Regions from separate parts of the Homo sapiens genome. Here region 1 is linked to region 2. Evidence: promoter capture Hi-C in 16 types of primary human blood cells and fetal thymus (Javierre and others, 2016). All regions are on one chromosome and are shown on one strand. Each heading gives the region's core, a stretch centred on a gene start or on the middle of the fragment in contact. The rest is flanking DNA. Distances are from core to core; before and after follow the strand shown. Region 1 overlaps BUB1 (BUB1 mitotic checkpoint serine/threonine kinase). Region 2 holds the start of ACOXL (acyl-CoA oxidase like).

Region 1 (2,700 bases), core at 186-2,685, 83 kb before region 2:
CTTATAGGTAATAAACTATGTAGATGCTTTCCCCCTAAGATCAGGAACAAGGCAATGATAAGAAACCAACCAACCAATTAGAAAATGGACAAAAGATCTGGATAGACATCTCACTGAAGATATACTGATGGCAAATAAGCATATGAAAAAATATTCAACACAGTATGTCTTCAGGTAATTGAAACTTCAAACAAGATTGAGATATCACTGTTCACGTATCAGAATGGCTAAAACCCAAAACGCTGACAACCACCTAATGAGGGCAAGACTGGGGAACAGGAATTCTTATTCACTGTTGGTGGGAATGCTAAATGGTACAGTCACTTTGGAAGTTTCTTACAAAAGTAAACATACTCTCATCATATAACCCTGCAATTACACTCCTTGGTATTTACCCAAATTATGAGTTGAAAACTTATGTCCACACAAAAACTTGCACACAGATGTTTACAGCAACTTTATTCATAATTGCCAAAACTTGGAAGTAACCAAGATCTCTTTCATTAGATGAGTGGAAAGGTTTAACGGTGTGGTACATTCATGCACTAAACATTATTCAGTGATAAAAAAAAAAAAGCTATCAAATCATGAAATGACACAAGGGAACCTTAAATGCATATTGCTAAGTAAAAGATGCCAGTTGAAAAGGCTATATACTATATGATTCCAACTATATGACATTATGGAAAAGGCAAAACTACACAGACAGCAAAACAATCAGTGGTTGCCAGGCGTTGGGGGACAAGGAGGAAGGGATGAATAGGTGAGGCACAGGGGATTTTTAGGGTGAGGAAATGATTCTGTATGATACTGTAATGATGGATACATGTCACTGTACTACATTCGTAAAAAACCCCACAGGATATACAACCCAAAGAGTGAACCCTAATGTAAACTAGCACTTCAATTAATAATGCATCAACATTGGCTTAATTTTAACAAATGTACCACACTCATGCAAGATGTTAGTAACACGAAAATCTGTGTGTGTATATATGGGGAGGTAGGAATATGTACTTTATGCTGAATTTTTCTGTAAGCTTAAAACTTCTCTTAAAAATAAAGTCTATTCATTAAAAAACTTAAAAGGGAATATTGTGAAGTCTTGCTACCATTGTTTCCCACTCCCACCTACAGCTAACTGTTTTAATTGTGGCATATAATACATACGGCTCTGCCCTTTTAACAGTATGGTATGTTTTGGAGCTCATTCCCTATCAGTACAGAGTGAGCTTTCTTGTTCTGTTGCCAATGTTACTATAGTATTTTACTATAGAAGTATATAATAATATCTATAGGAAATCCTTAAAAGTGGATAGCTGGCTTTAAAAGTAAATGCATTTTTAATTTTAATAGATATTGGCAAATTGCCCTCTATGAGTTATAGGAGTTATAGTCCCAACAGCAAGCACAATCCTACAATCATGGCTTAACAAAATGATCAGTTTAGTATTACAGATACAACTCCCTATTGGAGGTTGGGGGGCAAATAGGAGAATCACACACACACACACACACACACGTTACCATCAACTTCTCATAGAGAAACAAGAATTTAAAGTTATATTATCCAAATAATTCTTACCCAATTGAAATTCAGTCTTGGGCTTGATGGCTGGAAGTTTACATTGCCATTCAAAAGTATTTGGATAGGAACTCACTGGTTTAGAAAGCCCAGATAAAAGTTTGAAAATCAGCTTATCATCCCATGGGTTCCCAACAATGAAGTCTTAAAGGAATGAGAAAAAAAAAAAAAAAGGGAACATGAATTGAGTACTCAAGAACTTTACCAAATAAATTATAGACAAAGTGAGTAGAGATATTTACTAAGTAAGCTTTCAAAGCCTTATAAGAGTATTAATTCAAAATAAAAAAGAACTATTTTTAAAAGTCAAAATTGGTAGCTCTGCACAGTTTATTATTTGCCATTTTAGATCTACAAATTTGGATCAATATTTAGTTGTGACAAAGGGAATCAACTCTAGGTGCATTTGCTCCACTCAACTGGAACGGCTAGATTCTATCTTTAACACAATTAGGGATACATGTCTTAAGGGCAGATGTGGACATTAGTTACTTCTAATGTGCGCAGATAGACACATATTATTTAATTTCTTTTCCACTTATATCCACAAAACTTATACTACCTATGTGCAATTTGCATATATGAGATATACTTTGGGTCCACAAAAGAGAAATAATTTCTAAAAGTAAGAAAAAGCTTTCTCTCCAACCTGGAATGTTACAAAAAATTATATTAGTGGCAGTTATCAAATACTAATCCAACATGGTTAACACTCACTCAGCGCTAAGCACATGCAGAACACTGTTCTCAGTGCTTTATTAATTTACTTGGTTCTTACAATAAGCCTCTAAGGTAGGTACTAGCATCAGCTCAACTCTACAGAAAAGAGGGATATGGAAAATTGAAATGATCTTGGTCAAGATCACGTGACTACTTAGGTGAGGGAGCTAGGATTAGAACATAGTCAGTCCATCTCCAGACTCTGTGCTCTTAACCACTATGCCAGACTGTTTATGTGTAACAAGGGGGTGGGCGGGGGGGGGTGTCTCTTTAACCTTCAGCCTCAGTTTACTTCTGTAAAATGTAAAATATAATAGTATTAGATTAAAAGCCTGGCACGTAGTAGGCTGTCAAATTCTAATTCCCTCTTCCAACAGTAGTTATTTTGATACCTT
Region 2 (2,700 bases), core at 96-2,595:
TCAAATTCACCCCTGGGGCTTTCCTACCACCAAGCTTCCTGTGATGTGAGAAAACAAAGCCCCTTTTATCATGGATGACTGGGTATTATTACTCGCAGCTGCACAGGTGTGGTAGACAGAGGAATGACTCGCCAAAGGTGCTCATGTTTTAATCCCTAGTACCGGAGAGTGTGTTTCTGATATGGCAAAATGGACATTGCTGGTGTGATTAAAGTATGGATCTTGTGGTGGGAAGATTATTCCCATTGACCATGGATTATTCCCATGGGTCCCATGTAAACAAGTCCAAGGGAGGCAAGAAGGTCAAAGTCAGTAGAAGATGGAACGATGAAAGCAGAGCTTGAAGTGATGCATTTTGAAGACAGACGAAGGGGCCAGGAGCTAAGAAATGCAGGCAGCCTCTAGGAGCTAGTAAAGACAAGGAAATGCATTTTTCCCTGGAGCTGTGAGAAGGAACCCAGCTCTGCCAACACCTTGATTTTAACCCTGTAAGTCCTATTTTGGACTTCTGACTTCCAGAAATGTAAGAGAATAAATTGGTGCTATCTTAAGCCACTCACTTTGTGGGAATTTGTTACTGGAAACGAATACAGATGGCATCCACTAACCTCACGACAGCAGACCACACCATCATCTCCCCAGCAAAGTAGCCTCTGGAAGGGAACGGCTAACATTTCCTTGAGTATTTAAAAGGAGAATCAACAAGGTATATGAGAATTAGGGAGCAGAAAGGAAGGAACATTTTCCACTTAGGTTATAACTCATTTTCCTCCAGCCACAACAAAAAAAGGAGTGTCCTGGGAAATGAGTATCGTGTTCCGGTCGATCACCTCGTCATGAATGCAGCTTCCAGCTACCCTGGACTGCAGTGCTGTAGACCTGGGACGCCTTTAGATTACCGTGATATTAGAGTTCACAGTAATGCCCAGTGCGGGGAAGAGGTGAGATACAGCTGAGGAGGGGCCAGAGCTGGAGCCAGGCTATCTTGGGTCGTGGGGGTCAGGCAAAGTGGCTGGCCGGGAGATCTGCTGAGTGGGTCAGCCGGTCAGTCCTGAGCAGCCGGGCCTCTGGTGCCCAGGTCCACGTGACTGGCACCCTTTCTAGGGGTCTAGTACTTGTTTCTTACGGCTCACAAATCTTGAGGGACAGTTGATAACTGGAGGGTAGAGTTTTCGCTTCCTCGGAAGGGCAAGGGGAGGCCACCGTAGAAGCGCCCGCTCGCGCCGGACCTCCCGCCCGGGAAGCCAGGGCAGGGCGGGGCCGGGGAGGGAGGGGAGAGGAAGGTGAGGAGGGAGGAGACGGGCCGGGAGGGGTGGAGAGGGAGAGGGCGTGCGCCTGGGGCCTCACCTGCTGGGAGCTGGAGGAGGCGCGGAGCGAAGCCGGCCCTGCCAGCCACGCGGAGAAGCAGAGGCAGGTGAGCGCGATGCAGCCGGCGCCGGGTCTGGGGCTCGGGGACTCCTCCCTGCACCGCTACCTGGACGGCGACTTCTGGAGCCTCAAGAACGAGCTGCGCGGACTCCTCGGCGGCGCCCGCTCTTCCGGCAAAGGTACCGCGCTGCGGCCGTCGCCCCTGCCCGCGCCCCCGAAGCCGCCGAGCGTGTCCCCTCGGTCCCCGGAGCGTCGCTGCGGACAACGCCCTGGCGAGGGCGAGGTGGGGTGTGCGCCGCGCCTGAGAGGCGGGTCCCTGCCTCGCCGCAGGTGACGGGCTCCCCTCCCCAGGTGTGTGGGCGCAGCCGGCCGCCGCCGACCTCTTCGGCCCCCTGAGAGGTGCCCTCTCCTCCCGAGCTCCCTCCCCCACGAAGAGTCGGGTGCAGGGCTGGGCCCCGCGGTGACAGGCGCGGTGTCTACGAAGACCGTGTGGCTGGAAGATCGGCCTTGCTGGTTTGTTGAACCTGTTTCTTGAGTCCCCGCCCCGCGATGTCCCACCCTTGGTGGGGAGAAGGGGACAGAAAACCGCGATGGGATGGGCGCACAGGGATGGAGTGGCCCTGTCCAGGGCGTGTCTGGGCGTCGGGGTGGGACAGGCTTACAGGACCCCCTCGGAGTGCAGGTGTGCGGAATGGGCAGCTTCAGCGGGGCGGTTTGGTTATAAGAAGAACTCAGGTCCTCGATGTCATCCGATGCCAGGACAGCCCTGAGAAGCAGGCAGAGGGTTGAGTGCTTGAGCTGCACTGGAGATAGAGAGATGGTTCAGTCACCGGACAGTCAGGACCAGAACTCGGCATTCGTGTCTCCTGTGGGCTCTCTTTCTCATACCCATTTCAAGCAGTCTGAAAAGCCCAGTTGGAGGCATGCTTTGGAGTTCTAGCTTAAGAAAGGCCCTATTAAAAATGTCAGTATGTGCCCGTGGAGGATTAATTGGTTAGCCATGCCCACTTAGCCCTCGTTTAATTTATTTTGCGGAAATGAGAGGGAAGGAGATGGCTTGAGTGAACGTCAGGCTGTCCTTGGAGAATCTGGGGTTCCTGCACTGAGGTTACCTAGTGGGGAGTTGGGGGCGTTTGAAAGTTGAAAAGTGAGAAGTGTGGGATGGTGGGTATATCCATCAGTGTCTCGCCGACTTCTCTTTCCCTCTCTCTCATACATAGTTCTTTAAGTTATGGTTCTCAAAGTGTGGTACAGGGAGCCCTGGGGGGACCCAAGAGCATTTCAGGCGGTTCATGAGTACAAACTGTTTTTATAGTAATACAAAAAAAGTTA

The links. Contacts are between HindIII fragments. The CHiCAGO score rates a contact against its expected background, and 5 or more counts as called.
Region 1: a fragment that was not itself captured here is called in contact with the fragment with the promoter of ACOXL in region 2 in 1 of 17 cell types (megakaryocytes); the score reaches 7.5 in megakaryocytes.

Annotation. Positions count from the first base shown.
Region 1 is chr2:110,647,649-110,650,348 of GRCh38, forward strand. It overlaps BUB1 (BUB1 mitotic checkpoint serine/threonine kinase), which reads right to left. Exons shown (of 25, transcript NM_004336.5): 19 at 1,586-1,729. Among named protein-coding and RNA genes, the nearest start is that of SNORD132, 9.2 kb to the right of the region's middle. The HindIII fragment of the contact is 795 bases long and covers 1,039-1,833 here.
Region 2 is chr2:110,731,228-110,733,927 of GRCh38, forward strand. It overlaps ACOXL (acyl-CoA oxidase like), which reads left to right and starts at 1,346. Exons shown (of 18, transcript NM_001142807.4): 1 at 1,346-1,547. LOC124906064 (a long non-coding RNA gene) reads right to left here and starts at 1,198. Exons shown (of 3, transcript XR_007087181.1): 1 at 1,127-1,198; 2 at 609-677; 3 at 134-408. The HindIII fragment of the contact is 3,688 bases long and covers 33-2,700 here.